Regions from separate parts of the Homo sapiens genome. Here regions 1, 3 and 4 are each linked to region 2. The links are contacts of gene promoters, found by promoter capture Hi-C in blood cells and fetal thymus (Javierre and others, 2016). All regions are on one chromosome and are shown on one strand. Each heading gives the region's core, a stretch centred on a gene start or on the middle of the fragment in contact. The rest is flanking DNA. Distances are from core to core; before and after follow the strand shown. Region 1 holds the start of GADD45A (growth arrest and DNA damage inducible alpha). Region 2 holds the start of SRSF11 (serine and arginine rich splicing factor 11). Region 3 overlaps GNG12-AS1 (GNG12, DIRAS3 and WLS antisense RNA 1). Region 4 overlaps SERBP1 (SERPINE1 mRNA binding protein 1).

Region 1 (2,700 bases), core at 24-2,523, 2.5 Mb after region 2:
CAGGATGTTGATGTCGTTCTCGCAGCAAAACGCCTGGATCAGGGTGAAGTGGATCTGCAGAGCCACATCTCTGTCGTCGTCCTCGTCCGCCGCCAGCAGGCACAACACCACGTTATCGGGGTCGCTGGGGGCAGCGGGCGGGGCCAGTGAGCGCAGAAGCGCGGGCGCCCTCAACCACTGCCCGGGTCCCTGGGGGTCGCCGCCCGGCCCGCTCGCCCCCTCCCTTCCGAGACAGGCAGAAAAGCGACAGGAAGTGGCGCGGCCGGGCGAGGGGCGCCCAGCCAAGGCGACCTCCCGGGCTGGGGCGGGAAGGGGTGCCATGGGGGACGCGCAAGGGCCCCACTTACACGTTGAGCAGCTTGGCCGCTTCGTACACCCCGACAGTGATCGTGCGCTGACTCAGGGCTTTGCTGAGCACTTCCTCCAGGGCATCCCCCACCTTATCCATCCTACACGCGGGCAAGGGCGAGGGGTCCCGTCAGCCCCGGTGCCCTCGGGGCCATCGCCGCCCCCCTCGTCCGGTACCACGCCCCTCCCTCTCGAATGCAAGCACCACCGCGCACCTGGGCTCTACGAAAACCCGGCGCTCCCGCGGCCCCGTCACCCCCCATGACCCCTGCACGCCCAAGGACCGGGCGTCCCGTGAGAAGTCCCGAGAGTGCCCCTGCCACAGGCTGCCAGCCACGGGAGCCGCACGGGCAGCGACGGCCACTGCTGCCCTTTGCAAAGGCCCCGGCGGGGCTCGTTCGGGTTGGGGGGCACGCTCTTTCAGTCCGTGGGAGCTCCACGGAGAGTCCCGAGGGAGCAAGGGCGGGAGTTGCCCTGTGCAAACTTTTTAGCTTCCTCCCCTGCAAGCCTTCCACAGCCCGGCTGCACCGGGGAGCGCGGGGTAGGTAAGAGAAGTTCGGGCCGGAAGAGTCCGCAGGCCGACTCACCTTTCGGTCTTCTGCTCTCCAGCCGAGAATTCCTCCAAAGTCATATTGCAAACTGCAGGTCGCCCAGGGAGAGAGCGCGGCGTGCGGGCTGCTCCTGCCACGGCTAGCGCGCGGGCGCCTGCTTTCTGCACTCACTCACAGGCGCCGCTCCGGCAGCTCAGGCCCTGGCGCTCTCCGGCCGCCCCTCGCCCGCCCGGGCTCCTCCTCCTGTGCCAGCCGCCGCAGCTCCGGCCACCCCTCCCGCCTTGCTTGCTCGCTCGCTCCCCGGACCTCGCCTCGCCACGGGCCGCACGACACTAATTGGGCCGCTGCCTCCCAGCCACTGCCTACCAGCCACTGGAGGACAAAGGGCCCCGCTCTCCGGGGTTATCCTGCCAACCCTCAGCCAACCACCTTCCGCCTCATTTGCATGCAGCTTGGCCATTGGGCTATGCAAATCAGCCTGCTCCAGCAATTTGACCCCAGCTCCTGGAGTCAGGTTGAGAGGAGCGGAAAAGGGAGGAGCCACGCGGGAGGCGAGCCGAGGGGGCGGGGGCGGGGGCGGTGCCGAGAGGGGAAGGCGGGTCCCGCGCGCACTCTTATCCGGTTGGCGGGGACCATTGGGAGTGGGGGGCTTTAGCAGAGGCTAGAGGTGGCCTCAGCTTGGGCTGAAGCAGGCTGCCAAGTGTTTTTCTATAATAGTTGCGGCACTTTTTTCTTATTATCTTTTCATGTCTTTTGTTTTAAGGGGTGGCTATTAAAATCTATTTCCAGGGTTAATGCACTGAAGTCTAGTAATTATTAGTAAGCAGGTTACATTAAAAAAGTGTCTCCAGACCTCCGGGGCAAAGTTTACCTCAGAAGTGTTGTTTATCTAAGTCTAGGCGAAGCTGCTTATTAGCAGTAGTATTATTTCGGTGCCCTGATGGCTGGTTTGATTTATTTTTGGAAAGCTGCAAGGGTTGGAAGCTGAAAAAAGAAAAACCAACCCGTTTGTATTCAGGGATGGCAGGGAACCAAGTTAGAATCTTTTCCACAGAAAGCAGAACGGTTTCCCACCTGCCCGGTGTAACTGGGAAATCGTGAGCTGGTCTGCGTGGGGAGCTGGTGACCACATGTGGGAATCCCTGGCAACCCAGATTCTCCTTTCTCAAAGAGCCTTGCCCAAACAAGGATCCTTCTGGACGCCCACCAGCTGAGAGACAACCATCTGACACCCACACAGCCCACAAGTCTAAATTCAAAATGCTCTCGATATGCCCTAAGCTTCCTTTCCTAACGTATGTATGTCGTTACCTTCCACAGAGAGCCTCCTATGATCTCACTGTGAATTATTGATGTTAGATGCTGAATCATGAAGCTGTAACTATAGGAAGTTTTTAGTCATATGCTAAAATTTCACCTTTGAGATAATGGCAACTTGTAGGTGGAAAGCAGACCTTTAAAACTGCAAATGGTAGTTACACATTTTTGAAAAACAAACTTTAATATATAGACTCTCACTGAGTAGTTCAAAAGTCCCTTCCTTTGTTTTATGGTTTATGCAATAAAAGCAAAAACATTTCTTAAACCTACTGAAGTCATCAAAAGTGGTGAAAATGGCTCCCACATGCTTGCATTCAAAACAGTGCTTGCATTATTAAGGTTGCTGTACAGCCAAAGGTCACAGAAGTAATTTCTGCAAAGGTACCTGGAAGTTTTGCACCCTTATGTTTTTATCACTCTAGACAAAATATTCTCCAGCTCTCTTGATCTTAATTTGGTGGAAAAGAAAAGTGATAGGTTT
Region 2 (2,700 bases), core at 131-2,630:
AGTATTTAAGTGACATCATAAAATTCTCAATATATGATATTTACTGATAATGACATTTGAATTGTCACTTCTCCACCAATAAGTCTTCCAAAAAGCACAAGACTATTATTATTATTCCAATTGTCTGTTTTAGTAGTACACTTTATCTTACTTCTTAGCTTCTTTGAACTATTTTTTCTTTACAATTCATCCACTTAATATTCTTGCGATAGAAATAATTTTCAAAATAAAAGTGAGACAAAAAGGATAAAAAGTCATACACTCTAATTCAAATTTCAACATTTATAAAAATCCTTCTCAAGAACAACTGTGAAATATCACAAATCTGTATATTATTCAAACAAAGGAAAATCTCTGGTTTATAACCCGTTTTTTGACATTATACAAATTAAGTAATCAGGCTCACACTAAACTAAGCGTCTGTCAAAAAGAATATGATCTTTGAATTATATTGCTGGGCCAGAACCACATAACAGCAATAACAATAAGTGAACAACCTACAAAGTTTAACACCAAATTAACACAGGCATGAATAATTTTGTTACCTTTCTTCCAAGAACGCAAAGAACAAATACTCAGTTTTTTAAAAAAGGGATTTAACCTATATACGACGTACAGACTGCGGTTAGTCTTGCGTTAAGTCCCCAAAGCCAAACGACCACGTTGGCACAATTTAAGGCGGAAAAAAAAAATTTCCCGAGAATAACAGCCAGTGTTTCCTAATTCCAAAAAGCCCTGGCCCTGCCTCTCTGCATTTTTTTGTAGGCCTGGAACACAACCGTCTTAAGTAAATCCACCAGCCACCAGCCACTCAAGCAGCCTGGCCCGGGGAAGCAGCGACAGGGGCCTAAGGAAATTGTGTGTGTTAGGCCCAGGCTGAGGCGGCGTTAGCAGGAACAGTGATGGTGGACGATACTCACTCCGGCGGGAAGAGGCGCAGTTCGTCGATCTTGCCTAGGAAACCGAAGAGAGTCCGCATCTGCTCAGAGCTAGCGCTCGGGGAGACATTAGTCACCTGGATTACCTCGGTGCCGCCGCCTCCGCCGCCACCACCACCTCCGCCACCGGGCCCGCCGCTGGGGCCCGGACCTGCAGTGCTGGGGACGACGGTAGTGTTGCTCATGGCGCTGCTCGGGTTCTCGCTCCTGCTTTAACACATCAAACACACAACAAACAGTGAGAAGGAGGGGGAAGAGGAACCGGATTGCGGGAGAGAGGAGGGTGTCCGATGCTACAGCCTCTGCTACTGCTGCCGATGCCGCCGCCGCCGCCGCCGTTTCTCCGCCCCGCCGCACGCCGCGGGGGAGGGGATGAGAGCGCGCGAGCTCGAGACCACGAGAAAACAAACGGCCGCCCCACCTCGCCTCCAACCACGACACTAGCGGGCCCGAGCTCCCACAATGCTTTGCGGCGCAGGGCGCGTCAGCGTCGGCTCCACCCCGCGCAGGCCCAGCAGCCGTCGCCTGCAGCCCGAGAAATGAGAGGCACCGGGGTCTAGAGAAAGGTGTTATCCACCTTCGTCTCTCGTTTTATTCTTCTTTTTCTTCTCTCTTTTTTTTTTGGAAGAGCGAAGAGGCACGTATAAACTTTTTTTTTAAAAAAAGCATTCATCCTCCTGCAAAAGTCACTTCAGCAACTCTTCTTATTAAATACTGCTCACGATGTCTTTATATACTGATAATCATCTACAGAGCTATCCGATTACTAATGATATTTAAACCCAAGCTAAGATGCCACCCCACCACCACCAGTATAAAATGTCCCGAAATTTTCAATGTACATGAATTTTGGTAACATTAAATCTGTAACTAATTTGTTTTGTCACTAAAACTTTCAGAAAAGATATATTTTAATATTACACTTATTAATAAGCGTTTTGTACATTCATTCACAATGGATGACTTTTTTTTTTGAGACAGAGTCGCCCTGTCGCCCAGGCTGGAGTGCAGTGGCACCATCTTGGCTCGCTGCAACCTCCACTTCCCCTGTTCAAGCCATTCTCCTACCTAGGCCTCGGGAGTAGCTGGGATTACAGGCGCCTGCCACGACGCCAGGCTAAGTTTTGTATTTTTAGTAGACATGGGGTTTCACCATGTTGGCCAGGCTGGTCTCCAACTCCTGACCTCTGGTGATCCACCCGCCTTGGCCTCCCAAAGTTCTGGGATTACAGGCGCGTGAGCCACTGCACCCAGCCAATTCCACAATAGCTGACTTTGGAAACACAGTTTATAGTACTTAAATATATTCAAGTATATATTTCTAAAGAAAATACTGCAATTTCTCAAGAAAAACTTGTTTCACATACATATTCTTGCTTAAAATAATTTTGAAGCTTTTGACTATTAAAAAAATCCTTGCTTTTGTTTTCAACCTCATCTGAACTATTCTCTCAACTGCATCCAGTGTGTAGTCCAGTGACTTGTAGTGCCCCAAACATGACAAAAACCATAATGTCTCTGTGCCGATACACAAGTTATTAATAACATCACTCATCTTATCTGTCATCTTCTGTAGAGCATTCCTTCCCTCACTGCTATGACTTCTGCAAGCTGTTAGGGCTTCCTCTTTTCTGCTAAGTAACAGAAGATACATGTATTTATTATTGACATGTATCACTCAAAGTTGTGAGCTTCCTGGGTCAGTCCAGAACCTGGCACAATGTCTGTCACACAGTCAGTCCCAATGAATGTGCTGGACACA
Region 3 (2,819 bases), core at 11-2,510, 2.1 Mb after region 2:
ACATGTGCGCGCGCGCACACACACACACACACACACACAGAACTTAACAGCAGTGATGTGTGTTGTAATATGCAACTTTGTAAGTTACATATCACTCCCCAATACCACCTTCTCAGTCACGGAGTAGAGATCTTACTTCACAAGAAGTGAGACTCAGAGAGGTGAAGTGACCTGTGCAAGGTCACCTATTACAGTGCCAGAGTTGGAACTAAAGGAACTTCAGTCTGTGAACTTCAGTGTCTTTCCAGTAGCATATTTGCAGCAGAAGAGTCAAGAATGTTGTGAGCTGCAACTCTCACTAGAACCAAATGACCTTATTGGGAGATGTTAGTCCAGCCTTAAAAACAAGCTCTTCACCTCCATGAATGGCAAGTGTCTGCCCTCTTCAGGCCAAATCGAGAATGACATCTATAACTGAGCAAATCCTCAGAACCCAAGTCAGACCTTGGATTATTGCTTTTCAGTAAGTTCTGGTCCTGGCTGTGTCTCTAACTCTTGCTGTGGGACCCTCAGGGAAGCTACCCACCCCCTTCACCCCACCTGAATGAGATGATTTCTGAAGTCCTCAGCAGCCCTGATTCTAAGCCTCATAAGGAAGAGTAGGTGTTAATGGCATCCTAGGGCAATGGTAGGCGCCTGATGCAGATCTGCTGTGAGCCATGTGCTGGCATCACAGGGGTGGTTTATTAATTTCATTTATCATCTGGACAGCCCCTTCTTATAACGTACATCCTTGCCTCTTCTGAGGCTCTAAGATCCCCAAGGTGGCTCCTGTATCCAGAAACCCCTTGGCCTTCCCTCCCAGTTAAGCAAGATCTCTCTTCAACTCAGGGATGCTGAGAGATTGAAAGTGAACTACACACAGGAACAGCCAAGATAGGAGTTATTTCTATAGCACCATGCTTGGCTGATGTTCTTTACACGGAGTGGGCAGGATTTTTAAAACAGCGTTTGTGCCTTTTAGCCTGGGCTCCTCCTAAAAGCAGACTCTGGGACAAGGATTTGTGTGCAAGTAGCTGGCTTGAAAGGTGATTCCAGGAAGCACTGAGGTGGCATGGAGAAGCAAGGCTGAGAAGAAGGGAATGCAAAGAACAGCCACCAAGGTGCACGGCCAGGGCCTCTGTCAAGCTGTGAGGAACATGCTGCAGAGTTGTCCCCTGGGGCTGAGGAAGCTGTGAGAGAGAGCCACTCCACTCCCATCCTTTGTAGGTAGAGGGCCACCGCCAGGCTCTTAGCTACTTGGAACTAGGGCCAGCTTGAGGAATATGGGTGAGGCACCCATGGCCTCTGCTACATTGTTTTTAATCCAGTCTCAAAAACAAAATGGTCCTATCACAGAAACTCTGCAAAAATACATGAAAGAGTAAAGAAAAACATGTAAACATTTTACAATTACTCTATCCAAAGATAAATACTGTTAAAATGTCAGTATGTTCTTACACAAGTTTTTCCATGCATATATGTGTAGATTTATATACATTAAGATTGTATTATACATAGAAAATAAATTTCTGGACAGTTATATAACCTGCCCTTTTCAAAATATATCTAGGAAATCTTTCTATGTTATTGTGTTGTCTTCTATAACATGATTTTCATGACTTTACTATTATAGTCTCTAAAAAGGATGGTTCATAATTTTTACTGGACATTTCAGTGGTTTGCAAAGTTTGACTATTACAATATATGTTGAAATGAGCATCCTTGGATATAAATCTTTTTTGTACATCACTGATTGTTGCCTTAGTATCAATTCCTAAGAACTACTGGGTTAAAGATCAATTATTCATTCAATAAGCATATGTTGAACATCTAATATTGGGCCAGGTGCTTTTTTTTTTTTTTTTTTTTTTTTTTTGAGACAGAGTCTTGCTCGTCACCCAGGCTGGAATGCAGTGGCGTGATCTCGGCTCACTACAATCTCCACCTCCTGGGTTCAAAGTGATTCTCCTGCCTTAGCCTCCTGAGTAGCCTGGGATTACAGGCATCTGCCACCACGCCCAGCTAATTTTTTGTATTTTTAGTAGAGATGGGGTTTCACCATGTTGGCCAGGCTGGTCTCGAACTCCTGACCTTGTGATTTGCCCGTCTTGGCTTCCCAAAGTGTTGGGATTACAGGCGTGAGCCACCACAACCAGCCGGGCCAGGTGCTATTGTAAGCATTTGGGGCAGATCAGTAAACAATATCCCTATCATTGTGAAGTATATTGGTGTGGTAAAGGAAGGCGGGAGGGAGGAGGCAATAGATAGTAAGGTGATAGCGATGAAGGCTACACAGAAAAGCATTTATCATGGACACCTGTAAGCATACAGAGCCCTCCAGAACTGTGCCAACAGCAGAATGAGAGAGGCTGTGGCCCGCATCCTCACTGACACTACGTAGTTTTGAAATTTGCAACTTCAAGATGCAGAAATTGAATTTTGCATTTACTTCATTACCAGTAACACTGAGCATGTTTCATGTTCCTATGACTTGATATTTTTAGGTTGTCAGTTCAGATTCTTTATCCATTTTCTTGAGAGTCTGATTTAGTATATTTATCTTTTGTCTGTTACACGGGTAGCTCAACTTTTCTCCATTTGTCACTAGCTTTTATTTTGATTTGGATGTTTACCAGGATATAGAGCTTTTTTCTATGTAGTCAACCTGTACATTTTTTCTTTTATAGTTTCTAGTTTTGCTTTCATGCTTAAAGAAATATCCCCTAAGATAATAGGTCACCCACATTTTTTCTAGTTTTAAAAATTCTGTTTTTTTTTTCTCATCAATTCATATAGAATTTGTTTCCCAGCTGGAAGACCAATTAAATATTTTTTCC
Region 4 (2,812 bases), core at 297-2,796, 2.8 Mb after region 2:
AAGCAGGGCTCCCCAAATAGCAAATGACTTGTTTGGTGACAATTGCAGATTGAGATTATACTAAAATAATGGATCCTTAGGCCTGTGCTTTGTTTCTGTAAAAAGAGGAAAGGATCATATTCTATAGTTAAGACCTGAGAATTATATTTGGAAATAAATGGTTTAGTATTAAATAATGAAACCAGTGTGTGTTTGTGGATAGTTCTATTAGTAGTGAATCCATGGCCTCCTTTCCATATACAGGTTGGTTTGAAAATTGGAGTATAAGGATTTTAGGATTTGTAGAAACACGGCTATTGTTTTGATTTGCTCTAAGTGCTAGTTGCTGAAACAAAGCATAGAGGAACAGTTCTTTTATATTCCAAAATTTGAACCCTGGTTGCTGACAGACATCCTAGAGGATTACCTTCTTGTATGTTATTAAGAGTTACATATTGTGGGAATTATGGAAATTAAAAATGTGGTTTAGGAGAAGATAGGCTGAGGATTTTACATAAGAGGGTAGTTTTTAAACAAGGTAGTGTTTTTAAGAAATGTGTATTTTAGTATTCGTAAAGCCAGTTCTAGATTGTATTACTGATAAATGATCATTTAAGAGTTCATAAGTATGAATTCCATATTCCTTACTTGTCTCTAATTAGCAAACACTGAATTCCTGGTCTCTACCAAGTTGCTTAGTTACATAGGAAACTAGGGTACCCTCATCCTTGAATAATCTTTCTCTAAAAGATTACAAGGTTAATTTTCTCAATTAAAATCATAAATTTAAAATACTTTTATGTAATATCAGCTCTCTACCAGGTATAAAACTTGAAAACCTTTTCACAGGGAGAATGAAGTTGAAGAGGTAAAAGAGGAGGGTCCAAAAGAGATGACTTTGGATGAGTGGAAGGCTATTCAAAATAAGGACCGGGCAAAAGTAGAATTTAATATCCGAAAACCAAATGAAGGTGCTGATGGGCAGTGGAAGAAGGGATTTGTTCTTCATAAATCAAAGAGTGAAGAGGTAAAATTAAGTTTTGTCGTGTTTGAAAATGTTCAGATGTGACTTGAATTGTATTTATAATTTTTGTTTTAAAATTTCACATGGGTTATTTGTCTGTTAAAGCTTTACATAGGATCATTTGGGGCAGATAATTTGCTTTATAAGGAAAATAAACTGTATTATCACATATTCTAAGAAATTTAGTCCTTTGATCAATTTGTAATTATGTTTTATGTGGTAGAGTTACTTTTTCCTAAAAAGCTGTTAGTGGAGTATCTTGTAGTTATTGGTGTTCAGAAATATGATAGTTCTTTTCAAAGTTGTGGTTGTATTTTTGAAATCTTGCCAAACTGGGGATCATTAAAGGGCTGTGGTATTATGGTGTTAGGTTGAAATCTTGACATTTTCATATGGTTTAACCTAAAATGTAAGTGACTTCATTTAGAATTCAACTTTTGAAACTGTCTGCCTATACCATATATAATGGCCAGGACACTCAGTAAATGGCAATGTGCATTTTGTCTAAGGAATGACGACTTTAAAAACCAAAGTATATGTGGGTTTTACTTAAGAAACATGGAAACTAGTGAAAATACAGTTGACTTGTTGAACAACATGAGGATGCTAGGGGCACTGACCCCGCAGATCAATGCACATGTAACCTTTGACTCTCCCAAAACTTAACTACTAATAACCTGTTGACTGAAAGTCTTAGTGATAACATAACCAGTTAACACATTTTGTATGTTGCGTATTATATACTGTGTTTTTACAGTAAAGTAAGCTAAAGAAAATGTTGAGAAAATATATTTACTGTTCATTAAGTGGAACTGGATCATCACAAAGGTCTTTATTTTGGATAGGAAGAAAAGGGATTGGGCTTGCTTGTCTCAAGACTGACAGAGGCAGAATGTTCAAAGCCACGTTGTTCAAGGGTCAACTGTATTGGAGAAAGTCACATTGATGGCTTTTGATTTGGTAGCTTCCGTTTAAGCTTTGGGGTGTGTTCTTAGAGGAATGTTTCAGTGCGGCTTCCTGTTTGGCTTTAAAAACTCATACAAGCCCTAACTATATTATTTCTTCTCCTAAATTCATTTTCTCTATCAGCTTCCTTTAACCTTTTGACATTTGTGTTTGATTTATTCATATCATAAATTGGGCTGTGCCAGAAATCCAGACTGAGTTTTATCATCCTAAGGTAAAGTTAAATTAAAATATTGTGAGGGCAAACCCTTTCAATAAGGTATTAGTTATTTTTATTTTTTTTTTTTGAGACAGAATCTGGCTCTGTCGCCCAGGCTGGAATGCAGTGGCACCATCTCTGCTTACCGCAACCTCCACCTCCCGGATTCAAACAGTTCTTGTGTCTCAACCTCCTCAGTAGCTGGGATTACGGACACTCGCCACCATGCCCGGATAATGTTTGTGTTTTTAGTAGAGATGAGGTTTCATCATGTTGGCCAGGCTGGTCTCAAACTCCTGGCCTCAGTGATCCCCGCCTGCCTCAGCCTCCCAAAGTGCTGGGATTATAGGCGTGTGCCACCATGCCCAGCCAATAAGCATAATTTTTTAAACTGCAAAATGGCTATAAGACAAACTTGGAAACATTTTAAAATAAAATGGAGGTTAAAAAGATTAAAAGTTTTTTTAGGTTTAGAGATGATTTTTAACATTTACTTCATATGAGTAGTAAATGAGGACATTGTCTTTTTTAAGTCCTGTAGAAAAAAAACTGCATTAGAACACGTGGTTTCAGCCAGGCGCAGTGGCTCACACCTGTAATCCCAGCACTTTTGGGAGACTGAGGCGGGCGGATCACCTGAGGTC

What was found. Contacts are between HindIII fragments. The CHiCAGO score rates a contact against its expected background, and 5 or more counts as called.
Region 1: a contact is called between the fragment with the promoter of GADD45A here and the fragment with the promoter of SRSF11 in region 2, in 6 of 17 cell types (naive CD8 T cells, non-activated CD4 T cells, monocytes and 3 more). The highest score is 11.4, in naive CD8 T cells.
Region 3: a contact is called between a fragment that was not itself captured here and the fragment with the promoter of SRSF11 in region 2, in 1 of 17 cell types (neutrophils). The highest score is 5.1, in neutrophils.
Region 4: a fragment that was not itself captured here is called in contact with the fragment with the promoter of SRSF11 in region 2 in 5 of 17 cell types (total B cells, naive CD4 T cells, naive CD8 T cells and 2 more); the score reaches 9.7 in total B cells.

Annotation. Positions count from the first base shown.
Region 1 is chr1:67,683,774-67,686,473 of GRCh38, reverse strand. GADD45A (growth arrest and DNA damage inducible alpha) reads right to left here and starts at 1,273. Exons shown (of 4, transcript NM_001924.4): 1 at 936-1,273; 2 at 348-449; 3 at 1-124. The coding sequence starts at 979. RefSeq lists enhancers at 1-19, 50-99, 1-302 and silencers at 200-339, 410-539, 1,010-1,169, 1,360-1,419, 1,430-1,609. The HindIII fragment of the contact is 4,802 bases long and covers 1-2,182 here.
Region 2 is chr1:70,220,060-70,222,759 of GRCh38, reverse strand. SRSF11 (serine and arginine rich splicing factor 11) reads right to left here and starts at 1,380. Exons shown (of 12, transcript NM_001350605.2): 1 at 921-1,380. The coding sequence starts at 1,123. RefSeq lists a silencer at 996-1,045 and an enhancer at 941-1,486. The HindIII fragment of the contact is 2,724 bases long and covers 1-2,334 here.
Region 3 is chr1:68,117,915-68,120,733 of GRCh38, reverse strand. All of the region lies in intron 7 of GNG12-AS1 (GNG12, DIRAS3 and WLS antisense RNA 1), which reads right to left. It also overlaps a transcript of WLS not described here. Among named protein-coding and RNA genes, the nearest start is that of MIR1262, 64 kb to the left of the region's middle. The HindIII fragment of the contact is 8,968 bases long and covers 1-2,819 here.
Region 4 is chr1:67,418,203-67,421,014 of GRCh38, reverse strand. SERBP1 (SERPINE1 mRNA binding protein 1) reads left to right here. Exons shown (of 8, transcript NM_001018069.2): 6 at 829-1,006. Among named protein-coding and RNA genes, the nearest start is that of SERBP1, 11 kb to the left of the region's middle. The HindIII fragment of the contact is 871 bases long and covers 1,111-1,981 here.